4 separate regions of the Homo sapiens genome follow, and regions 2, 3 and 4 are each linked to region 1. Evidence: promoter capture Hi-C in human tissues and cell types (Jung and others, 2019). All regions are on one chromosome and are shown on one strand. The core of a region is centred on a gene start or on the middle of the fragment in contact, and the rest is flanking DNA. Distances in the headings are between cores, read along the strand shown. Region 1 holds the start of KRTAP5-1 (keratin associated protein 5-1). Region 2 overlaps MUC5B (mucin 5B, oligomeric mucus/gel-forming). Region 3 holds the start of LSP1 (lymphocyte specific protein 1). Region 4 has its middle 9.2 kb from the start of TOLLIP-DT.

Region 1 (6,557 bases), core at 3,691-6,190:
AGCTTCCACAGCAGACTCAGAAGGCTGGGGACTCCAGCGGAGGGGCAGAGAAAGTGACAGCAGCAACAGACGAAACAGCCGCCAGTGACACCTTTCAAGCACTGAGGAATTTTGTGCCAACCAAAGCATTATTCAAAAGTGAGGGCAGGCCAGGCATAGTGGCTCACGTCTGTAATCCCAGCACTTTGGGAGGCCAAGGTGGGAGGGTTGCTTGAGCCAAGGAACTCTAGACCAGCTTGGGCAACTTAGAGAGACCCCATCTCTACACAGAAATTAAAATTAGCTGAGTGTGATGGTGTGCCTTTGTCATCCCAGCTGCTGGGGAGGCTGAGGAGAAAGGATGGCTTGAGCCCAGGAGCAGGAAACAAGCCACCTCCATGTGAAAATGCAGGCTGTCTACTGATGAATGCTCGGGAGGAGCAGGAAACAAGCCACCTCCATGTGAAAATGCAGGCTGTCTACTGATGAATGCTCGGGAGGAGCAGGAAACAAGCCACCTCCATGTGAAAATGCAGGCTGTCTACTGATGAATGCTCGGGAGGAGCAGGAAACAAGCCACCTCCATGTGAAAATGCAGGCTGTCTACTGATGAATGCTCGGGAGGAGCAGGAAACAAGCCACCTCCATGTGAAAATGCAGGCTGTCTACTGATGAATGCTCAGGAGGAGCAGGAAACAAGCCACCTCCATGTAAAAATGCAGACTGTCTACTGATGAATGCTTGTGAGGGAACTTCCGGAGGATGTTTTCAGGAAGAAGGAAGCTGAGCCCGGAAGGAAGAAGTATGGTGTAAGCAAGAACCACGCCTAGAGTTGTTGGTGGATGTGTGGCAAGTTTAAGCAAATACTGACTATAAATAAACAATGATGAGCAATGTGAGAGGAGCTAAGACGCTGGAGAAACTCCCACAGCTGACACCGGAGGGGCTGGGCAGGGGAAGAAGCTGTCCCCAGCTCCCTGCACAACTCTCAGCAGGGGAGGAATAGAGGGCCATCACGTGTAGACAACATTTGTTTAAAAATACACATGAAATGCATAAGGTTGCTGCTAAAAACAGGAATAGTGTATATAACTTCTAAGTCAGTCAAAGCAAAACAAAATAAAAACAAAAACAGAACCTTAAAAACTCCATCTAAAAGAAGAGGGGAAGGAAGCACTACCACAGGATGGTGAAATGCAAAGGGTGGTGGGAAGCAGCCCACGTATGTCAGAAATCACAGCAAACCCCACAGGCTTAGCTCATCGGGTAAAGAACAGAGACCCCAAAATATGGGAGCTTTTAAAGCAGCCCCACAGTAGTTACCTCACCCAGAAGCTTGCAGAAAGGCTGAAAGAAGCTGAATGAAAATGACTGCAGAAAAGGGAGGGAGGGAGGGAGGGAAGGAAGGAGGGACAGATAGAAAGCCCAGATGGCAGTGACTCTCTATCGCACGCCTCCTGGCCTGACAGTCCACGTCCAGCAGACAGTCACGCACCCCAGCACCCGCATGTTTAGAAAGTGCAAAAAGAACAATGGAGAAAATAAAGATATGAGCAGAACTAAATAAAAATGTTTAACACATACAACAAACAGAATCAACAAAATCAAAAGCTGGTCTTTCAAAAGACAAAGAAAATCAACAATATTTAGCAAAACCAATGAGGAAAAAAAGGGTCGGGCAGGAGAAAGAGCATGTATAACCTGAAGCAGGGATGAAAAACGGCAAATAGGCTGGGCACGGTGGCTCACGCCTGTAATCCCAGCACCGTGGGAGGCCAAGGCAGGTGGATCACCTGAAGCCAGGAGTTCGAGACCAGGCTGGCCAACATGGCAAAACCCTATCTCTACTAAAAATACAAAAATTAGCCAGGCATGATAGCAGGTGCCTATAATCCCAGCTACTCGGGAGGCTAAGGCAGGAGAATTACTTGAACCCGGGAGGCAGAGGTTGTGGTGAGCCGAGATCACACCACTGTACTCCAGCCTGGGTGACAGAGTGAGACCCTGCCATAAAAAAAAAAGAAAGAAAAGAAAGCAAATAATGACAAATTTAGCAGCTATTAAAAATAACAGGCTACTAAGCCAGGCGTGGTGGCACACGGTAGGGATTTGTAGTAGTCAAATGTGGTAGTCTGTAGTAGTCCCAGCTACTTCAGAGGCTGAGGACCACTTGAGGCCAGGCGTGAGTTCGAGACTGCAGTGAGCTATGATGGTGCCTGTGAACGGCCACTGCACCCCAGCCTGGACAACATAGCAAGATCCCATCTTCAAAAACAGAGGCAACTATGAAAAGTACATCCCAATAAATTTGAAAAACTTAGAATAAATGACATCTATGTTAAGAAGAAACACAGGAGGATGAGGCAGGAGAATTGCTTGAACTCGGAGGCAGAGGTTGCAGTGAGCCGAGATCACACCACTGCACTCCAGCCTGCGCAACAGAGCGAGACTCTGTCTCAAAAAAAAAAAAAAAAAAAAGAAGAAGAAGAAGAAGAAGAAACAAAAGGCTGGGCGCTGTGGCTCTCGCCTGTAATCCCAGCACTTTGGGAGGCTGAGGCAGGTGGATCATGAGGTCAGGAGACCAGCCTGGCCAACACGGTGAAACCCTGTCTCTACTAAAAATACAAAAATTAGCTGGGTGTGGTGGCACGTGCCTGTAATCCCAGGGGAGACTGAAGCAGGAGAATTGCTCAAACCAGGGAGTCAGAGGCTGCAGTGAGCCGAGACCATGCCACTGCACTCCAGCCTGGCAACAGAGCAAGACTCCATCTCAAAATAAAAGAATCCAGAAAATTCAAAGAACTTCAGACACCAATAAAAATAATAATGATCTTGGCCAGGTGTGGTGGCTCACACCTGTAATCCCAGCACTCTGGGAGGCCGAGGTGGGTGGATCACTTGAGGTCAGGAGTTCAAGACCAGCCTGACCAACATGGTGAAACCTTGACTCTACTAAAAATACAAAAATTAGCCAGGTGTGGTAGCACATGCCCGTAATCCCAGATACTCGGGAGGCTGAGGCAGGAGAATTGCTCGAGCATGGAAAGCGGAGGTTGCAGTGAGCCGAAATCGCACCATTGCGCTACAGCCTGGGAGACAGAGCAAGACTCTCCATCTCAAAAATTAATAATAATAACTATCTCAATTTTGTAAAGTGGGCCAAGGACGTGAAATTAACGAGACTCTAATGACAGGTGACCATATGGAAAGAGGCACAGCATGGCTAGTAACCAGGAAGAGGGAATATTAAACCACAGTGTGTAACACTGTGTTACACACCCACATGAAGGGTGTAAGTTGACAGTTGCAAGTTTTGGTGGGGGTGCCAGGAAACAGGAGCTCTCTGGCAATGCTGGTTGGACAGCAGCTGGCTGGGGGGATCCCTTGGGAAGACAGCTTGGTAACAAGAACCTCCTGACTTTCAGGCACCCACACCTGCAGGAGGGGTTTTGGGCAAGAAAGTTGCAGCTTGCTTGAAATAGCAACAAAAAGGAAACAAAAGGTCCATCAACAAGTAAATGGATAAGTCAATGTATATTTAGAAATCAGAGAAAACAAATAAATTAAAACCATATGTATCCCTAGAGAAAATCTCTTTAGCCTAACACCTATTTTTTTCAAAAGCAATTTACAGAAAGAGAAATACAGTGTAATACCCATTACATAAAGTTTTCAGCATGTAAAATTTTTTTTTCTTTTTTCTTTTCTTTTTTTTTTTTTTTTTTTGAGATAGAGTCTCACTCTGTTGCCCAGGCTGGAGTGCAATGGCGTGATTTCAGCTCACTGCAACCACTGCCTCCCAGGTTCAAGCGATTCTCCTGCCTCAGCCTCCCGAATAGCTGGGATTACAGGCACATGCCACCATACCTGGTTAATTTTTGTATTTTTAGTAAAGACGAGGTTTCACCATGTTAGTGAGGCTGGTCTCAAACTCCTGGACTCAAATGATCCGCCCACCTCAGCCTCCCAAAGTGCTGAAATTACAGGTGTGAGCCACCGCGCCTGGCCACAAAACATTTTTAAAGGAACATACATATTAAGTAGGAGTGTGAGGACCTTCATGAGAGTGGTGAATTCCAAATTCAAGAAATTATTAGGGTGGGACAGAAACAATATGGAGAGATGGAGGAACAGAGACTTCATTTATTTATGCCATTTTTTCCCAAGTTGAGTAGGGTTTTTTTTTACATTTTTTAAATATATTACTCTTTATACCATCGTTCAACTAAAATAGATCACTTTTTTTTTTTTTTTGAGACAGAGTCCCGCTCTGTTGCCCACACTAGAGTGCAGTGGTGTGATCTCTGCTCACTGCAACCTTCACCTCTGGGTTCAAGCCATTCTCCTGCCTCAGCCTCCCAAGTAGCTGGAGTTACAAGCATGCACCACCATGCCTGGCTAATTTTTGTATTTTTAGTAGAGATGGGGTTTTGCCATGTTGGGCAGGCTGGTCTCCAACTCCTGACCTCAAATGATCCACCTGCCTCGGCCTCCCAAAGTGCTGGGATTACAGATGTGAGCCACCACACCCAGTTAATTTTTGTGTTTTTAGTAGACACGAGATTTCACCATTTTGGCCAGGCTGGTCTCCAACCCCTCACCTCAAGTGATCCACCTGCCTAGGCCTCCCAAAGTGCTGAGATTACAGGTGTGAGCCACCATGCCCAGCCTAAAATAGATGCTTTTGTAAATCCAGTGTGACTCTGGAGTCAACAGGGAGAGGCTAGACCCTTGGGGGCCTCCATTAAGTCTGGACACAGATTCAGCAAGAGAGCAGCAGCCCACTGAGCAGCCCATACACCAAGGGGCGGATTTCTAGAGGAAACAAGAAAAAGGGGCCCTAAAAATGGCACAAACAGGAACCAGGAAATGTGTGCCCAGCCTCACACATGACCCTGGGCAGGGATATAAAGGGTCCAGGCTCAGGGAGCTCCACACCTGCACCTCCCTCTCACCTGCTCCTCTACCTGCTCCACCCTCAATCCACCAGAACCATGGGCTGTTGCGGCTGCTCCGGAGGCTGTGGCTCCAGCTGTGGGGGCTGTGGCTCCGGCTGTGGGGGCTGTGGCTCCGGCTGTGGGGGCTGTGGCTCTGGCTGTGGAGGTTCTGGCTCCAGCTGCTGTGTGCCCGTCTGCTGCTGCAAGCCCGTGTGCTGCCGTGTGCCAACCTGTTCCTGCTCCAGCTGTGGCAAAGGGGGCTGTGGCTCTTCTGGGGGCTCCAAGGGGGGCTGTGGCTCCTGTGGAGGCTGCAAGGGGGGCTGTGGCTCTTGTGGGGGATCCAAGGGGGGTTGTGGCTCCTGTGGGGGCTCCAAGGGGGGCTGTGGCTCTTGTGGGGGATCCAAGGGTGGCTGTGGTTCCGGCTGTGGGGGATGTGGCTCCAGCTGCTGTGTGCCTGTCTGCTGCTGCAAGCCCATGTGCTGCTGTGTGCCAGCTTGTTCCTGCTCCAGCTGTGGCAAAGGGGGCTGTGGCTCCTGTGGGTGCTCCAAGGGGGCCTGTGGTTCTTGTGGGGGCTCCAAGGGGGGCTGTGGCTCCTGTGGAGGCTGCAAGGGGGGCTGCGGTTCTTGTGGGGGATCCAAGGGGGGTTGTGGCTCCGGCTGTGGGGGCTGTGGCTCCGGCTGCGGTGTGCCCGTGTGTTGCTGTTCCTGTTCCAGTTGTGGCTCTTGCGCGGGGTCTAAGGGAGGCTGCGGGTCATCCTGCTCCCAGTGCAGTTGCTGTAAGCCCTGCTGCTGTTCCTCAGGCTGTGGGTCATCCTGTTGCCAATCCAGCTGCTGCAAGCCCTGCTGCTCCCAGTCCAGTTGCTGTGTCCCCGTGTGCTGCCAGTGCAAGATCTGATTTCTGGCTTTGCAGGACTCTTACCATGGCCAGGCATTCCTGCCCAGCCTTTACCTCCTTTTCCTGGCACCCAGTGAGCCAGACTCTCCTTCCCCACCCACTACCCTATCTCCCACCCTCCTGCCTTGCCAAGCATGAACACTTCTCTTTGACCTTCTACCAAGAAATGCCATGGGCCCATGCATCCAAGAAGAATGACTTTCAAGGCCTCCCTTCCAGGCATCTGGAGACCAGCCCCCCACCGCCCCAGCCACCTGCAGCAAATGCCTATCCGCAAGCCCTGCCTGCTGGCACCACATCCAGCACGGACAGCCCTGCAGGACAGCCCAGGGTGCTTGCTCACTCTGCAGTCACTAGGAGTTCAGATCTCTGTCCTTTAAACATCCAATAAACCGCTCACCCCAGCACCCCATAGCTGTCTTGGTATATTTATGTTTATTTCCCTCTCGAGGCAGGTGGGGGGCATCTGTGGCTACACTGGGTCCCCTGGGAACCACACACACACACACACACACACACACACACACACACACCGGCCCTGAACCAAACCGGAGCAGGCAGGTGGGCGCCCTGGCCAGCAGGGATCCTGGATACATGGTGGCGGTCAGAGGCAGGAGCACCAGCAGCCACCTGGCTCAGCCCCTTGCCGTGCAGCCTCTACCACACCCTCTCAGCATCTGGCTCAGGGCGGGGGTGCCTTGCCTTGATCAGGCAAAAGCAATCACTAGGGGGTCATCATGGCCTGTT
Region 2 (5,798 bases), core at 461-2,960, 360 kb after region 1:
TCCTGGGGTCCTGGGGTGGCCTCTGCCCACTATGCCTGGGGTGGGTCCTCTGCCCTCCACCCCTGTCCCCCAGGCCTCCCCACCCCCAGTGGCCCCCAAGGCGCTCCCCCTGCCCCTTCTCTCTGGCACAATCCCTGGCGAAGGCCCTGGGAGCACTCACGGCAGAGCTCAGGGCACCTCCAGTTCCGCGGCTGGCCCCCCGCGTGGGCGCACTGGCGTGAGTATTCCACAAAGGTGGCACACGGGCAGGTGGGGCAGCGGCACAGGTCCTGGGCGCAGGCGGCCAGGTACGCAGTGCTGTCCACCAGTGCGTGGCACTCCGCAAAGGCCGGCCCCAGCAGGGTGCGGTGGCAGATGCCCTCCTGGGGAGCACAGTGGGCCAGGCTGGGCACCCCTGCCATCCATGGGGGCTGCCACGGTGCTGGAATAGGACCCATGGCAGGCCAGGCCGGGAAGCCCTCTCCCTGTCGGGGTTCCTTGTACCCAGCCCCACCCCTTCCACCCACTGTGGCCATGCAGAGCTCTGCTTGGCCCTTGGGGAGTGACCCGTGACCGGGGATCCCCTACTCCGGATGTGCCTGCCCGTGGAGTAAGCGCCCAAGAAAGGTGCAGACCCCCACCCCAGGAGGCGGAGCCAAGGAGGGGAGGTGGAGGCCCCGCCTCTCTGGGCAGCCCGGCAGGTTCAGGGCAGTCCAGTGCTGAGTGTCCTCCGTCCCCAGGCCCAGGGCTGCCGGCTGCGGGGCCCAGCTCACAGGGGGGCTCATGCTGTCATTCACAGCACAACTTAAGGCTCAGAGATCCTGCTGGTTTGGGGATCCTGGAGCCTCCAGGCCCCTTCTGAGTCCACCTGCTGGTGGGAAGGGCTGGCTCCGGGCTTCCCGAGTGCCCACCCTCAGCCCAGCCTGTGCAGCATGGGCCTGTGTTTGCTCACACAGATGGGCACACGCGTGGCCTGATGAACACGCACGTCACCACACTCGGACAGTGTGTACCGTGGAACTGAGCACACAGAGGGTGGCTGCCCGGCCTCCCTCCAATGGCACCATCTCTCCACCAGCTGGGAACATTCCTCAGACCTCGGCCCAGCTCCCCCTGGACCTGGAGGCCGTCCCTGCCCAGGAGCTGGGGGTGGCGGGGGACTCACCTCGTCCGTGCAGTTGCCGGCCGGCAAGGGCAGCGGGTCCGGGCACTGCTCCGTGGGCCCATCCAACTTCTGCAGGTTCCCAAACTGGAGCGGGGTCAGCCTGGCGTCTGCCGGGAAGAAAGCAGGGGTGTGGTGGCTCTGAGGGGCTCCTGGGGACAAGATATGGGCTCCCACTTCCTGAGCCCAGGCCAGAGGACTCCCACTCCTGCCTAGGGCCCAACACCCCCGAGGGGCACTCCTCCCACCATGTAGGGCACAGTCCTCGTGGCCCCTCCCTGCCTGGTGCCCGGTCCCCACTCCGCCCCCTCCCGGCCTCCCCGGGACTGTGGCTCTTCGTTGGCCGACATAATTGGTCACCGCCCCCTCACCCAGGTGGCACTCACTGTGGGCATAGAACTCGTTGAAGGCCGGGAGGCCGTTGAAGTCCCCACACAGGCCACAGGTCTGGTTGGCGTATTTGGGATCCAGCTCCAGCTGAGAGTGGGGAGGGGCAGCTCCAGCCTCAGGACCTCTGATCCCCACACTGGCAACATGCCCCAAGCCCCGTGACCCCAAGCCCAGGGAGGCATCCCTCGACCCCCGGTGGGGGTTTTGTGGCCAGGCCTGAAGGGGCAAGGGGCGAGGGGGCTTCCTCACCAGGGCACTGTCCTCTCCGTTCCACAGGAATGTCAGCACCAGCCGGATGCTGACCTTGATGTAGTCCCCGCTCTGCTCCACCAGGAGGCCAGTGCGGCTGTAAGGCAGCTCCTCCCTGCGCAGACAGCGGGGTCTCTCCCTGGGCCCCGCTCTCCTGGCTGCCTGCCCACCCAACCCCCCCCCAGCCCTGGCCCAGGTCAGACATGGCCGTGTGGGGAGGTCACACTGTGTGGCCCGGCCCTCGCCCCTCCCCAGGGTGGCCGGCTCACCGCTGCCCATTGATGAGGACGGAGCCGTTGGACGCCTCCAGCACCAGCCCCTGGGCCTTGATGACAACACGGGTGACCACAGGCCTGGAGCCCACTAGGCCTCGGCGTAGCTGGACGTTGAAGTCCTCGTAGGCGGCGCGGCAGTGCTCAGAGAACACGTAGTTGCAAAGGCCAGGGAAGCGGAAGACGTCGCCGTCGAAGGTCTTGTAGTGGAAGTCACCCCAGGTGCTGCACACCCGCCCATTGTGCGCCGGGTTCAGGGCTGTGGGGAGCGCGGGATGAGGCCCATCCCCATGCCAGCCCCCCACGGGGTAGCCTCCCCTGGGCCGAGGCACCCTGGTTTTTGGAATGGAAAAGCCCATGGTCGGCTGCTGGCTGTGCCCTGCCTGGCTCACCCTGGACTGCGTCTGTTTTGCTCCAAGACCCCTGACCCGTCCCCATCCCCCAGGGTGGCCAGTGACCAGGAGACCGCCCACACGGAGGACTCTGGGTCTGGCCCAACGGCCCCACCTGGTGGCAGCTGCACCCCTAGATCTGGGCCCCCACCTTTGGGACTGGCAAACACCCCCTTCCCGGCTGGCAGGGGCAGCATCTGCTTACGGCTCAGGCTGGGGAAGACAGTGACGGGTGGAACAAAGCTCACGCGCCGGGTGGGCGAGGACGTCGGGGCACCTGTGGGTGAAGGCTGGTCACCCCAGGAACGTGGCCAGGAAGGGGAAGCAGAGACACCCTCCCCGGGGCCCACCCTCCTCGCCAGCCACCAGAGTTGAAGGGGAGCCCAAAACTGATGGGCTGGGGCCAAGGCAGCCCCTTTACCCTTGGCCCTGTCTGCCCCACAAACACTGCTGCCCTTGTGTTTTGGCCTGTGTGTGCACACATGTGTGTGCCAGTGTAAGTGTGGGCACGCATGTGCCTGTCCACGCGTGTGCTTCTGTGTGCATGTCTCTCTGCTCTGCACTTTCCTCTTCTTTGGAGCACCAAGCTCCGCCTCGGGTGCTGGGTATTGTCCTGGGCAGGGGACCCAGGGAGGGTCTCTGTCAGACGCATGGCTGCTTGGAGAGGCGTCTGCCTGCCCCAGCCCAAATTCCAGCCCCTCCAGCCTGGTCAGGAACCCCCCACCCCCGAACCTGGCCACATACCGCCATCCATGGTGTGCCCTGCATTCTCCCAGCTCGGCTCCACAGGGCCCTGGGTCTCTGTGGGAAGAGGGAATGGGAGTCAGTGAGGAACTAGATGTGGCTGCCAGCCACGAACCCAACCACGGACCTGGCCACATCCCTGGTGCGGCAGCCGCATGTGGGGTCCTTGGTGGCGGTCTCCATGCCCTGCAGGTTCACCCTCACGACACACTGTGGCCAAGGCCGGGACTCCTCCCCAGCCGCTCAGGCCACCCCAACCGTCAGCCGCAGATGCCTCCGCTCCTGCTCAATGCTATGGAAAGCCTGCGGGATGGAAGCTTCCAGCAGGGAGCCCTGAGCTGCCCCCAGCACGGCCTGCCCTGTCCCCGACTGACAGGCGGGGATGGTGCCTCCTTCTCAAGGGATGGGGGAGAAAATGGAATCAGGAAAAGGCGTTGGCCGCCCCAAGGGGGGATTTCGCCCCATCCCACACATCCCTTGGAGAAGGACAAAGACCAGCTTTGTTAGGAGGACACACTTGGAGCCTTCCAGGCGTGACTTAGCAGAAACCTAAACACAGAACCAGTTTCGAACTAGATCCTAAGTCAGGGCGAGTGGGGCAGGCTGGGGGCAGGACTCTGGGCCGCGCAAGCTGTGTGGCCGTTGATACTGGGATGGCCGCCCAAGGTCCCCCAGGCTGACCACCGCCTCCGGGCAAGGCCTCACCCACCAACCCCATGGAGGCTGGGAGGAGGCAGCTCCAACCCACAGGACTCTGAGGACCCCCGGCCATTGTCTGCCCAGTTTGGGTTGGGGCGCCCCCTTCACAGGACCCCAGAGCTCCTCCCTGGATCCTGATCTGAGACTCTCTGTGGGGAGGTGGGAGGTGAGGCCCCAGCCCCCACAGCATGGTCAGGGCTCAGCGAGGGGCCGGCCCTGTGGTTCGCACTCTGGCCTGGCCCTGCCTGGCTTTTCCAGCCAGGTCCTGCTGACATCTGGGAACCACCACAGGGGCCGCCTCCAGAGATCCAGGTTGACTGCCTTTCCCAGAAAGCCAGCCGATCCCTGAGTCCTCCACCCCGACCCACAGCTCACAGCCCTGCCCCTGTGTGCCAGCCCAACCAGCCACTCCCACGCCCCGGCTCCCGCCGCAGGCAGCCCCTCCCCACCCCAGCAGCCCCTCCCCAGCCCCAGGCAGCCCCTCCCTGGCCCTACAGCCCCTCCCCCGCCCCAGGCAGCTCCTCCCCTGCCCCAGACAGCCCCTCCCCAACCCAGGCAACCCCTCCCCCCCAGGCAGCCCCTCCCCTGCCCAGGCTGACTGCCCTTGGTTATCTGCTCCGTGCAGTGCCCTCCTTGGGCTGGACCACCTGGGCCTCCATCTTGTAGCCAGAGAAGTGCCCACCACCAGCCACCCCATCACTTTGGGGTGTGTCCCCTAACATGAAGCTGCTCTGTGCAGGGCTGCCTTCCCCGGCCACAGGACGTGCATCTGGTGACTAAAGCACAGTCCCTGCCAAGGGCTTGATCTCCCCAACTTGGACGTGCGTGGAGGACAGGAGGACGGGTGGGCTGAGAGTCCCTAGGCCCTGCCTGCTCAGGTGAGGGGAGCCAAGGCTGCATGGCCCGGAAGAATCAGATGCAAGGAGGTGGCTATTCTGGTCAAACCAGCCCCCAAACCTTGCAGCCAGACGCAGCTCCCCCCGGGCCCAGGCTGGGAGCCACTGGGGGAAGCCCCCTGCCTCCAGCCCTGCTGACCACCCAGCCTCCCTTCCACAGATGGAGAGAGACCCCAGGGAGCCTCACCTGCCCAGCCCAGACCCCAAGCTTGGGAGGGGGTGGAGGGCGGGGCAGGGAGGGGCTGCAGCAGCCTCATGGCCAGCCCGGCTGGGTGTCTCCCGGTGGCCCCTGGGGCTGCATCTTTCTCTATTGACAGTAAGTATTAATGCTGCGGCTCTGGCCAAGAGACAGCAGACGAGGGAAAACGCTCGGCTGAGAGCCAGGCAGCCCGTGCGGCATGAGATGCCCACAGATGGGCCGTGGGAGTCGAGCGTGGGTTGAGGCCGGGGCTCTTGCGGCTGGCTGTGCAACCCTTGAGGGTGGTACCCTCACCTGCCCTGCCAGCTGTGATCCCCAGGGAGGTCGTGAAGGGTAGAGCCGGTCCTGGACAGGGGTCCACGCTAAGCCTGCCCCTGCTCACTCTGATGCCTGGGCCTCATGGGGCTCCAGAGAGACCCCCAGCTGTGACCCCCTCCCCCATTGCCCACTCCTGTCCCACCCCCAAGACCAAGACCCTTTCGGTGGTCTCCCAGGGGCCTTGCCCTGCGGTCAGGGGCCCACCTTCTCCTGGACACCCCATCCAAGCCAGCCCCTGAGTTTCCTGACACTGTGAGCCCGTGGGGCCCCAGAGCCCTGTGTTGGGGACGGGTAGGGTCCCATCCAGGACACTCAGGGAGTCGTAGGGGGATCTGCCCGTGCACTCTGCAGGAGAAGCTCCCAGGCAAGCGACCTGCAGAGACCCCCGCCGTGAAGACAGCATCGAGAGGGGGCGGAGTGGGGGGCTCTTACCTGCCTGCGGCACCACGAGCATGGCCGCCAGAGCCAACACCAGCGTCCGGCACGCGCTCGGGGCAC
Region 3 (6,244 bases), core at 3,745-6,244, 270 kb before region 1:
TTGGTTTAAAAAGCTTGGCAAAGGCAGGGCGCGGTGGTTCATGCTTGTAATCCCAGGACTTTGGGAGGCTGGGGCGGGTGGATCACCTGAGGTCAGGAGTTCAAGACCAGCCTGGCCAACATGGTGAAAGCCTCTTCTCTACTAAAAATACAAAAATTAGCCGGGGGCAGTGGCAGGTGCCTGTAATCCCAGCTACTCAGGAGGCTGAGGTGGGAGAATCTCTTGAACCTGGAGGGCGGAGGTTCCAGTGAGCCGAGATTGTGTCACTGCACTACAGTCTGGGCAACAGAGCGAGACTCTGTCTCAAATAAATAAATAAATAGCTTGGCAAAGACTGGCATGGAGTGAACGCTTGGTCTGAGTGGCTACATTCTGAGTGTGCAGATGGGGAAACTGAGGCTTCAGAGGGGTGCGGCTTACTCATCCAGAAAGCACTCCGAGGGCCTATAGCAGCCGAAGCAAGGCCAGCCCTGGGGCCTTGCAGCCCATCCCCCTCCCGCCGCCCCAGCAGTGGGATCTCAGGGGCTGGGACTGCAAGGCAGAGCTCACGCCCCCACCCCTCACCAGGCTGAGGACTCAGAGCGGGAGACCACTGGGCCCTTTCCACTGCCAACACCCTCCTCTTCTCTAGGGCTCACCCATCCCTCTGGCACGTTCTCAGGGAACTGAGGTGGAGACAGGCTGGCCCGTAGGGTAGCGGAGCAGAGGCCCACCATCCTGCCACCCCAGGGTGTCACCGGCCAGGGCCTGTCCCAGCTGGACCCCAGACCCTCCTGGCACTGCCCTTGTGTGGCTCCAGGATTGTTTTAGGAGACACGAGGGAACCAGGAAGGGGGCGCAGGAAGAAAGGATTCTGGCTTCCAGAATCAGCGGGGGTGGGGCCTGTGATGCTCCCACTTGTGCGACCAGCCCAGCTGGGTGTCGGTGGACAGCAGCGCCTGCCAGCCCACGAGGAAGAAGACATCCTTCTGCTTCCCTGGGAAACTTCCAGATGCCTCAGACCCCTTACCCAGGGCAGGAGGAAGGGGACCTCCCCAGGGATCCTGGGTCCAGACATCAGGTCTTGACCACAGGAAGGTGTAGGGAGGGAGCCCCAGGGCTTAGCCCTCAATCCTAACCTCCCTCAGCAGCCCCTGTGGGGCTAGGGCTGGGGCTGAGGTGGCTTCCCCAACTGTCCCCAGCTCTGCCCTCTTTCCTGAGCAGTCGTGGGCACCGCTGGGGGCTCTCAGGGCCACCTGCCCCAGCGTGGAGCATTGCACATCCTCCAGGTGGTGCCTGGCCTTGGCTCGGAGGGCAGGTGGGCGGGAGGGCTGCCCAAGGGCCTGGCTGCCTGGGGGGTTCCATCCCATGGGCTCCTGCTGCTCAGATGAAGACTTCCAGGGGGCTGCCGGGGGCCTCCAGCCCCTTCCTCCTTCAGAATCTGGAGCTCTGAGGGTCTCCAGGGACAGATGGCCAGAAGGAACCCTGCCAGAGCAGCCCCTCAGGTCATCCCTGCCCTTCCCAACTCAGCTCAGCACACAGAGAAGCGAGGGAGGCTCCGATGGGCCAGGCGGGGCTCCAGGACTGGCCCTGTCCATGGCAGGTGCTGCCAGAGCCCTGGGCAGCGGCCTCCCACCGCGGGCTGGGCAGGCCTTTGAAGGTCTGCAGAGGAGCAGGGCGGTTGGGTGATGCTAGGAGGGGCATGTGCCAGGGCTCTGACACCTTCCAAAACTGGGAAGAGCTGGGAAAGCTGGTGGGATGGGAAGTGAGTTCAACCAGGCCAGGAGGGCCTGGCATGGCCACCCAGGGGCATGGAGTTTGCCTGTAGCTGGTGAATGGTTCTTTCCGTGGGAGACACGGCCTGGTCGCTCATGGGGAACAGACTGGGGGTAGGGTCATCCTGATGGGGGCCTGGGCTACACAGGGGCAGACTGAGAGGGCAGCCAGGGTGTCTGTGGGACAGGGTGGCGGCAGGCAGACTTGCCTTCTAGGTGTGGACATGGGGTGGGCACGCCTGGGCGGGTGGGCACCCCCGGGCAGCTGGGCCAAGGACAGGCACTGCAGCCAAAAATGCAGTGTGACCCCAGGGAGGGTACACCCCTGCAGAGCTGGGCTCCAACATCTGGATATGTCGAACCCAAGGTCTGAGAGGGCAACCTGACCCTCCCCAGCTGTGGACCAGGACGCCCCGTCCTCATCGCCTCAAGGCCTCCAAGGCCAGATAGTTCCTCAGTGTGGGGAGAGCCTTGCTCTTGGGGGCTATAGAGGGCAGGCATCCCCCAGCGTCACCAGAGAGTCCCCCCAGAGCCACAAGGCAGCTCTGTGAAATCCTCGTCCCTGCCCCCAAGGGACAAGGACAAGCTAGTGACTGTCTGCTGGACAGCGGGGCGAGACAGGAGTGCCCCCGAGTGGAGGAACCGCAGTCCAGCCTGGCTGGTAGCCGAAGCGGAGCCTGGACCCCGCCCAGGGTCAGGGGACCTTCTTTGGCCTGAGGCCTCGTGGGAGAGGACAGTCCTGTCCTGGGGGCATCTGAGAGACCACATCATGGAGGGGTGGTTCTGAGGAATCTGGCCCCGTCCCGGGCAGTCTGAGGGGAGGGGCCACATCATGCGACAGTCTGAGGGGCTGGACCCACTTGTCCAGCTGGAGGGGCTTGGCCTGCCCTGGACCTAGTGTTGAGGGCATGTCCTGAGACCGTCACAGGCTGGCGTACCTGGCACTCTGTGACATGCACGGGGGGCTGTCTTGTCCACTGCTCCAGCCCCAGCTGAGCCTGCCCAGCCTGGGCCTTCCTGGGGACTCCCGTGTGGGGGCTTCCCAGGCCATACATCCCTGCCTGGGTGCAGGGGACTTCTGTCCCATCCTAGACAGGAAACTCCCCGGTTCCCTTAGTCACCTTGTGAAATGAGAAGCCTACCCCACTGGGGCTCTCAGTTTCATTCTGAAAGGTCAGGCTTGGCTGCGCACCCCATGCAATTCGCGGGGGCAGGGGATGTCCAAGGAGGGGGTCCAGGCTTTGCAGAGCCCAGGAGAACCGCCGCTCTCCAGCTGGAGCGCCTGACAGCCCCGGCACAGGTGCAGCCCTGGCCTCCCAGGATCTGCACCAAGATGCCCCAGGATCATCTGTGCCTTGGCCATGCCCGCTCCAACCCCCCCTCCCCGCTCCTGGCCCGGGGGATCCAGGGCATTTGAGACAGCTGGGAGGGGGTGGCCAAGGATGAGGCCAAGGAGGAAGGCGGGGGTGCCCCAGCCCAGAGGCTCATGTCCTGCCCTTCTATGGGCATGAGGTGACCAGGAGCAGCACCTAGTCCAGGGCTGGGGGTGGTGCTGACAGGAGGGCCCGTTTTGCAGCTGGGACACAGCTGTTGTGCACCCAGAAGCCTGTCTCCCTGCACACGGCCTGGGCAGGGCATCCTCCCACCTCTCCCTGGGGACAGGCACGGACGTCCCGACCCAGCCCTCAGCCAGCCCCGGCCTCTGCTTAGCCTCCACTCCACTCACGGCACTCGGGGTCCCTTCAGTGGCCCCCCGCACCTGTACCCAAGTGGGATTTGGCAGCAAGAAGTCAGAGATGCAGACCCCTCACACATACCAGACCCACAGCAATGTGACGGCCACCAAGGACACAGACACAGGACAGTGACTGCAGCCACCAACAGCACAGGAGCTTTGTGTGAAGGCCGGGAGGTGGTCCCTGCACCGCCCCGGGTCGGGTAGACCGGGACCCTCTGCTGTCAGCACCAAGGCAGAGACTGGTAGCAGCCCTGGCTGCAGTTTTGGGGTATGTGAGCGTCACCCTGGGCCTCCTCTCAGGTCCGTCCTGTGTGGCTGCGGGCATCACACTCTTTCTGCAACCTGGGCCCCAGCGCCTTCCCTTCCGCACACCAGGCCACAGCCCCCGCTGACCTGCTCCTAGGCCGGCCTCTATCCCCAGCACCGGATCCCCATCCCCTGACCATTAGCACGTCGCCCCTCTGCCCCTCAAAGCCCTACCTGTCCCTGCACCGCACGCCCTGAGCCCTCCCATCTCTTCTGGGACCTGCACCGGGGGCAACTCGGGTTCCCCTGGCGAGGCTCAGCTGTGATGCCTGGATGCCTGCTGGCCGGCAGCTCCCCTCTGCCAGGGAGCCCAGTTACTAAGCCGCTAGCCCTCTCCACCCACCCCAGCACAGGGCTGGATGCCCATTGGTACCACAGAGTACAGCTGCCCGCTAGGAGGCCTTTGGCAGCGGGGTTTTTCTGCCCAGCTCTGGCAGTCCTACACACAACCTCTGCCATGCCCCCTCATGTCCCCACTCCAACCAACACACGGTGCCTGGCACCCAGCACAGGCACCTGCCAGAATCCTTGGCCTTGTCCTTTACCGCAGGTCAAGGGCAGCTTTGGGTGCCCTGCCCTGAGGCCTGCTGGGCCCCAAGCCTGGCGGCCTCCAGACCCTCAAGGCAGGATAGCCCCTCTCAGATAGTCCTGTGGGCAGGTGGCCAGGCCCGGGCCAGTTCCACCCATCCCAGAACAGCTGCTCCCCAGCCCCCACCTTGCCTCTTCCCAAGCTAACAGGGCCCACAGTCCCCAGCTCCTCCCTGGCAGTCCAGGACACGTCTTGGGGTCTCCTCGCTTCAGGCATCCACCATGGGCTTAGGATCCCACGCGCCTCCCCCAGTGAGTCCAGGGCACAGAGGCAGGCGGAAGAGACCTCCACCCTTGTTGTGAGAGGGGGGTCCCAGCAAGACTTCCTGCCACCTGTCTGTGGGTCCCCAGTTTCCCCATCGGACATCCAAGTTCTCCCATTGGGGGCCCCAGATTCCCCATCAGGCACCTCAGTTCTCCACCCTCCATGCAGCTCAAGGACTATGCACCCGTGGACACGGCACAGGGCGCCGGGCGTCGCCGCAGACCCTTACCCCAGCAACTCTTCCCGCTCCTCGGCACCCGGGTCACTCGAAGCCTCCGCCATCAGCCTGTAGTCTGGGCCCCACAGGGTGCTGGCAGATCCCTGGAGTGGGTGTACGTGCTGTGGCTTTCAGTGCTTTCTGGGGCGGCTTCTGAGCCCCCACCCCCAGCCGAGTTTCACTTCCCCCTTCCGGCTGCAGGTTGAGGTTTGGAACCTGTCTCGGCTTGGGTCAGGGTGTTGTTTTTTAATCTGTTGCTACAAGAGGAGAGGAAGAAAAAAAAAAAAACCCAAACCACCCCTCAGGAAGCGTTAAGCAAGTTACAGGGGCCTGGGGTGACAGAGACGGGGTGCGAGGGCCAAGATGGCCGCAGGCAGCTCTTCATGGCTCGGGGAGGGGGACCCATGTTACCCCTGGTCCCCGCTAGTAGCTCTGGCCATCAGGTCCACCTGTGAGTGGCCAGTTCTCCTGCAGCATCAGGGACAAACACGTCTGTGATCCCATAAGCACCACGTGAGCGTTTTAGCTTCTTTGGGTGAAATCTACCCAGAGGCCGGCTCTCCTACAGGTGCTCATGGAACTTGGTGGAGTCTTTTCTCGAAGCCTGGGGTCATAGCCTTGAGCACATCAAACAGCTGTGGGTCCCAGGTGGCTTTGGGGGCTGTGCCCGGGATGCCCCTGCGTTCTACCCGTCGGGTGCCTTGTTCTGTCTTGGACTGCCTTGCTGATGCCGAGCTGTCGGGCATCCGCCTCGTCCCCCCGCTGCCCCTTGCTCTCCGTGCTCTGGTCGCTGGAGTTGACCACCGAGTGGTTCGTGTCCCCAGGCTCTAAAGGCAGTGCCTCAGGGACCCTCCCAAGAGGCATAGGCCAGCCCGAGGGGAGGGATGGAGGCTGTTTCCAGCCCTCACTGTCCCCAGCTTCTGGGAGTGACCACGCAGTGGCTCCAGGGTCAGGAGGAGGGATGCATGACTGCAGGAGCCAGACCCCAAAAGCTGAGGCAGGGGAGGACTTAAGCTGGGCCAGAGTAGGGCAGCCACAGAGGTGGCGAAGGCTTCCCTGCTGGAAACCTCAGCGCAGGAGAATGGGAGAAGGGAGCCCTGGCCAGCGGCTGGGCCTGAGAAATCCAACCAGCAAGGACTTACAGGGGGTCCCAAGGCAAAGAGGGGCTGGAGAGAGGCCAGGGGTTGGGAGGGCCCTGGGCCCAGAGTGTTGACCCATCAGGGTGGGGCCGAACCGGAGGCCGCCTCCTTGGGACTCAGCGAGCCCCCCACCCACCAAACACACCACAAAGACCAGCAGAGGCTTTCAGAGCCCCACGAGTGGAGGCACCAGAGGGATCCGTGGCCCAGACGATGGGCAGGGCTAAAACCAGATCA
Region 4 (6,099 bases), core at 1,393-3,892, 270 kb after region 1:
TTTTGTCTCTACTCTTTTTCTGCCTTTTGTGGTTTTTACCAAGAATTTTATATGATTCCATTTTCTCTCCTTTCTTAGCATATCAATTATACTTCTTTTTAGATTACTTTTTTTTAATGGTTGCCCTAGAGTTCACAATATACATTTACAACTAACATAAAAGTCCTCTTTCAAATAAAACTATACTGTTTCATGAATAGTGCAAGTATGTTATAATAACAACATAATTCTAATTATTCCCTTCCAGCCCTGCATTATTGCTTTATTTTGTGTAATTACTGTGTAATTACACTTACACTTAAACTATAATCATCAAATATATTGTTGCTATTATTTTGAACAAGCTATTATCTGTTAGATGAACTAAGAATAAGAAAAAGCTATTTTACCCTCAATTATTTCTTCTCAGATGCTCTTCCTTTCTTTATGTGGATCTGAGTTTCTGACCTGTATTATTTTCCTTGTGTCTGAAGAACTTCTTTTAGCATTTCTAGCAAGGCAAGTGTACTGGCAACAAATTCTCTCGATTTTTGTTTGCCTGAGAAAGTCTGTGTTTCTGCATTACTTGTGAAGGATTTTCACAGGATACAGAATTCTAGCTTGGTTCAGTTTTATTTTCCTTTCAACACTTTAAATATTTCACTCTACTTTCCTCTTACTTGCATGGTTTCCAAGGAGAAGTCAGATGGAATCATTATCTTTGCCCCTCTATAGGTGTATTACTCTAGCTTCCCTCAGGGATCTTTCACTTTCTGTAGGTTGCATATGATATAACTAGGTATAGTTATTTTGTATTGTTTTTGTTTTTTGTTTATCCTTCTTGGTGTTCTCTGATCCTCCTGAATCTGTTGTTTGGTGTGTGACAATTAGTTAGGAGAAATTCTCAGGCATAATTACCTCAAATGTTGCTTCTGTTCTTTTTTTTTTTTTTTTTTTTTGAGATGGAGTCTTGATCTTGTTGCCTAGGCTGGAGTGCAATGGTGTGATCTTGGCTCACTGCAACCTCCACCTCCCAGGTTCAAGTGATTCTCCTGCCTCAGTCTCCTGAGTAGCTGGGATTACAGGTGTCCACCACCAAGCCTGGCTAATTTTTGTATTTTTATTTTATTTTATTTTTTTTGAGACGGAGTCTCACTCTGTTGCCCAGGCTGGAGTGCAGTGGTGTGATCTCAGCTCACTGCAAGCCCTGCCTCCTGGGTTCACGCCATTCTCCTGCTTCAGCCTCCTGAGTAGCTGGGACTACAGGCGCCCGCCACCACGCCCGGCTAGGTTTTTTTTGTATTTTTAGTAGAGACAGTGTTTCACCGTGTTAGCCAGGATGGTCTCGATCTCCTGACCTCATGATCCACCCGCCTCGGCCTCCCAAAGTTCTGGGATTACAGGCGTGAGCCGCTGCACCCGGCCCTGTTCCTTTCTTTCTTCTCCTGCCGGTATTCCCATTCCCATTACACATATTTACACCTCTGTAGTTGTCCCACAGTTCTTGGATATTCTGTCCTGTTTTTTTCAGGCTTTATTAATGTAGCCTCAAGTTCAGAGATTCTTTCCTCAGCCATGTCCAGCCTACTAATAAGCTCATCAAAGGGAATTTTAATTTTTATAGCCACTATTCTTATCTTTAGCATTTCTTTTTTATTCTTTCTTAGAATTTTCATCTCTCTGCCTTCATTTTCCATCTGTTCTTGCACGTTGTCTACTTTATCCACTAGGGCCCTTAGCATGTTAATCATGGTTGTTTTAGATTCATGATCTGATAATTCCAACATTGCTATCACACCAGGGTCCAGCTCAGTTCTGGTGCTTATTCCATCTCTGCAAATGGCATTTTTGTTTCTTTGTTTTGTTTTTGACTTTTAGTACGCCTTGTAATTCTTTGTTGAAAGGCAGACATGATTCACTGAGTCAAGGGAACTACAGTAAATAGGCCTTTAGTAACATAGTGGTGAGGTGTGAAGAGAAGGAAAGCATTTTACAGGCCTGCGATTAGGTCTCCCGGTGAGTCTGTCCTGCTGGGTTGTGAACCTCATAAGTGCTTCTCAGGTTTGTTTTTTGTTTTTCACCCCTTTAGGCGGCACAGTGTCCATAAGGGGAGCTGGAGTTGAGGAGTTCCCTCCTCCAACATGGAAAGCTAGAGGGAGCTGGAGCTGGGCATTTTCCTTCCCACAGGTCAGTGAGGTTCTGATAAAACCCCAGTAGGGTAGGCTCTGGTAAACTAGTTTCTGCTGAGGTGAGGCCTTTTTAAGAAGAACAGAATGTTTTAACCTATTTCAAAATGGTTCCTTTTCCTCTCTGCCTGCTGTAAACCCCGGGAGATTTTTCTCTGCTCTTCACTGCGAGAATCTGGTAGAATTCCTGGAGGTAAAACTCACAAAAGCAGAAATTGGGGGGCGCCTCATGACTGTGGGGTGCTGAAGACTGACTCGGTCCTCCTGAAAGAGCAGGGTGAGGGGGGCTGATGACTGTGGGGGGCTGATGACTGCCTAGATCCTCCTGAAAGAGCAGGGTGGGGGGGTCCTGATGACTATGGGGGGGCTGATGACTGTTGTGGGGGCTGATGACTGCCTGGGCCCTCCTCCTCCTGAAAGTTTTCCCTCTCAGACCTGTGGACACTGAGCCTCCAGAAATTTACGAACTACAGTTCAGGTTTTCCTCCTCCAGTGCTGGTTCTTGCAGAGGTGGATCTCCGCTTTGGTAAGTTGTGATTGTCTGTATCCACCTGTTTATCTCTCTAATTTTCGGGGCAGCAGTTTGCCCAGAGAGCTCACTTCTGTGATGGTTCTAAGAAAAGCTGTTGATTTTTCAGGTTTTTTTTTTTTTCAGCTGTTTGCTTGTTGTTAGGTCAGAGCATCAACTTTTTTTTTTTTTTGAGACAGAGTCTCGCTCTGTCACCCAGGGTGGAGGGCAATGGTGCAATCTTGGCTCACTGCAAGCTCCGCCTCCTGGGTTCACACCATTCTCCTGCCTCAGCCTCCTGAGTAGCTGGGACTACAGGTGCCTGCCACCATGCCTGGCTAATTTTTTTGTATTTTAGTAGAAACAGGGTTTCACCGTGTTAGCCAGGTTGGTCTTGATCTCCTGACCTCGTGATCCACCCGCCTTGGCCTCCCAAAGTGCTAGGATTACAGGCATGAGCCACCGTGCCCGGCCCAGAGCATCAACTTTCAAGCCCCTTACATGATGGACCCGATTAGTTATCCTTCTGAGTATGCCATCGGCTTCATAATGGGCCCTTGACTGATACAGTCATTGGTATCGGAATTGGTCCCAAGAAACAGACTCTCAGAATGGGATTCCAGGACTGGATTGCTCATACATTTGATGAACACGGGGATAAATCCTTGCTGGGGGAAACAGAACACTGGGAGCTCACATCACACAGTAGCACCTCAGTTCCTCACGTTCTCATCAACAGCAGCATGGGGCACCATGCACGTGGAGGGAAAATAGATGGGGAATCACATGGCTGAGACACGCAGTTGCTTCAGCAAAAATGGGGATTACAAAGACTGTGGAATGGGCTGGCTTCCTCTGACGGCTCCAGAAAGCGTTCACAAAGGAACAGGACAATTCAAGCTTCGGATGTGCCAATGCCTCCAGCGAAAGACCACTGGGAACACACCTGTAATGGAGCAAGCTGGGTTTATCACTCGTTGCAGTGAAGGAGAGCACACACACACCCTGGAGAACTACAGGTTAACTTCGTAAGAGGGCACCGGAAAGGACTTACAGTGGCATTGGGGCTTGTGGAGGTATTCTGGGGAGGGTTTAAGGAAGTGGGGTTTTGTTCTGGGTTTGATGCAGTCAGGAAGCAGGGGTAGTTCCATGAGTAGGCTTCTTTTTGTTTTTCCTTTTTTTTTTTTTTTTTTCTGTGAAGGAGTTTTGCTGTCCTTACCCAGGCTGGAGTGCAATCGTGCCATCTCAGCTCACTGCAACCTCCGCCTCCTGGGTTCAAGCAATTCTCCTGCCTCAGCCTCCGGAGTAGCTGGGATTACAGGCACCTACCACCACGCCCGGCTAATTTTTTGTATTTTTAGTAGAGACTGGGTTTCACCATGTCGGCCAGGCTGGTCACGAACTCCCGACCTCAGGTGATCTGCCCACCTCGGCCTCCCAAAGTGCTGGGATCACAGGTGTGAGCCACTGCACCTAGCTGATTAGGCTTCTTAGTAATTTTTCTCTAGAAGGAGGGAAGAGTAGGCGGAGGCTAAAGTTGTAGTTAGTAAAGCAGCAGCTGTCAGACTGGCCAGGGTAGGTGATGTGGTCATTTGTCTTGGACAGTATTCAGACGTGATTAGAGAGTGGTGTGTTTTTGTACTGAGGCGTCACAACCACAGACTGGCTTTGTATGACGCGACTCTCCAGCAAAGTCGATATGTTTAACAGAACACGGCGCCCTAACTGGGAGTGCCAGGCCAGCTCATAGCAACACCAAGGCCTCGCTAAAAGAGAGCCTTTTCACCTCTTTCTCTGATGGAAATTGGGAAAGCCTCAGTGCAGACTTGACAGGAACTTCTTATCTACACCACCTTCAGGGCGGATAGGGCTGAGGCACTTAGCAAAGAAAAGGAGAACGTGAAATGGATGGTGGACTAAGGAAGCTATGAGTATCACCACAGGCCTCATCACAGATACAGAAATGGAGAATAGAGCAGTTGTATATTCTGTTTCTGGTTATTGTTTTCCCTAACAAGTCACAGTTGGTAGCTAATGCTTCAATTCTTGCTGTAGGTGGCAATATATCTTAGTTGACCCACCCATGAAAATATGGTGGCGAATGGCACCTTGTATTTCTCCTATGCTGGGAACACAGGGCTTTTTGTCCAGAACAAAGAATAAGAATCTAAGTAAAAAACAGTATAAAGAGACAAAGAAGGTGGCTGGGTGCAGGGGCTCACGCCTGTAATCCCAGCACTTTGGGAGGAGGCGGATGGATCACCTGAGGTCAGGAGTTTGAGACCAGCTTGGCCAACATGGTGAAACTCTGTCTCTACTAAAAACACAAAAGTTAGCTGGGCGTGGCAGCATGTGCCTGTAGTCCCAGCTACTTGGGGGGCTGAGGCAGGAGAATCGCTTGAACCTGGGAGATGGAGGTTGCAGTGAGCCGAGATTGCGCCACTGTACTCCAGCCTGGGCAACAGAGTGAGACTGTGTCAAAAAAAACAAAACAAAACAGAGAGAGAGACAAAGAAGGTTATTATATAATGATAAAGGGATCAACTCAGCAAAAGGACTAGCAATTCTACACAAATATGCACCCAACACCAGAGCACCCAGATATATAAAATCAACACCATTTAATCTAAAGGGAGACGTAGACTCCAATACAATAATAGGAGCGTCAATAGCCCACTCTCAGCATTAGACAGATCATCTAGACAGAAAATTAACAAAGAAACATTGGACCAAATGTAAATTACACACTAGACCAAATGGACCTGACAGATGTTTACAGCACATTCCGTGCAGCAGCTACAGAATACACATTCTTCTCATCAGCTACACAGAACATTCTCCAGGTTCAACCCTATGTCAGAACACAAAACAAGCCTCAACAAGTTTTTAAAAATCAAAATAATATCAAGAACCTTCTCAGACTACAATAGAATAAAAACTAGAAATCAATAACGAGAACTTTGGAAACTGTACAAATACATGGAAATTAAACAATGTGCTCCTGCAGGGTGCAGTGGCTCATGCCTGTAATCCAGCATTTTGGGAAGCCAAGGCGGGGGGATCACCTGAGGTCAGGAGTTTAAGACCAGCCTGGCCAACATGGTGAAACCATGTTCTACAAAAATACAAATATTAGCCGGGCATGGTGGTGGGCGCCTGTAATCCCAGGTACTTGGGAGGCTGAGGCAAGAGAATTGCTTGAACCCGGGAGGTGGAGGTTGCAGTGAGCCAAGACCATGTCACTGCACTCCAGCCTGGGCGACAGAGTGAGACTCCGTCTCAAAAAAAGAAAAAAAACAAAAACAAAAACAAAAAACAATGTGCTCCTGAACAACCACTGGATCAGGAAGGCATTTAGGAGTAAACCAAAAAACTTACTGGAAATAAATGAAAATAAAAGCACAACATAGAAAAAACTATACAGCA

What was found. The method cuts DNA at HindIII sites, captures the fragments that hold promoters and counts their contacts. A contact is called where the count stands out against the background at its distance.
Region 2: a fragment that was not itself captured here is called in contact with the fragment with the promoter of KRTAP5-1 in region 1 in 1 of the 25 tissues and cell types used here (lymphoblastoid cells).
Region 3: the fragment with the promoter of LSP1 here is called in contact with the fragment with the promoter of KRTAP5-1 in region 1 in 1 of the 25 tissues and cell types used here (mesenchymal stem cells).
Region 4: a fragment that was not itself captured here is called in contact with the fragment with the promoter of KRTAP5-1 in region 1 in 2 of the 25 tissues and cell types used here (lymphoblastoid cells and spleen).

Annotation. Positions count from the first base shown.
Region 1 is chr11:1,583,666-1,590,222 of GRCh38, reverse strand. It overlaps KRTAP5-1 (keratin associated protein 5-1), which reads left to right and starts at 4,940. Exons shown (of 1, transcript NM_001005922.1): 1 at 4,940-5,881. The coding sequence starts at 4,974. The coding sequence ends at 5,810. The region is part of intron 1 of KRTAP5-AS1 (KRTAP5-1/KRTAP5-2 antisense RNA 1); the gene reads right to left. The HindIII fragment of the contact is 15,838 bases long and covers 1-6,557 here.
Region 2 is chr11:1,223,128-1,228,925 of GRCh38, reverse strand. It overlaps MUC5B (mucin 5B, oligomeric mucus/gel-forming), which reads right to left. Exons shown (of 49, transcript NM_002458.3): 1 at 5,733-5,798; 2 at 3,189-3,245; 3 at 2,650-2,721; 4 at 2,050-2,311; 5 at 1,781-1,895; 6 at 1,528-1,618; 7 at 1,145-1,251; 8 at 161-362. Among named protein-coding and RNA genes, the nearest start is that of MUC5B, 3.0 kb to the right of the region's middle. RefSeq lists enhancers at 3,928-4,625, 4,626-5,321, 5,322-5,798. The HindIII fragment of the contact is 5,077 bases long and covers 1-4,248 here.
Region 3 is chr11:1,851,834-1,858,077 of GRCh38, reverse strand. LSP1 (lymphocyte specific protein 1) reads right to left here and starts at 4,994. Exons shown (of 11, transcript NM_002339.3): 1 at 4,881-4,994. The coding sequence starts at 4,933. RefSeq lists enhancers at 2,623-3,052, 4,903-5,222, 6,214-6,244. The HindIII fragment of the contact is 16,836 bases long and covers 1-6,244 here.
Region 4 is chr11:1,315,870-1,321,968 of GRCh38, reverse strand. No RefSeq gene overlaps it. Among named protein-coding and RNA genes, the nearest start is that of TOLLIP-DT, 9.2 kb to the right of the region's middle. The HindIII fragment of the contact is 8,078 bases long and covers 1-6,099 here.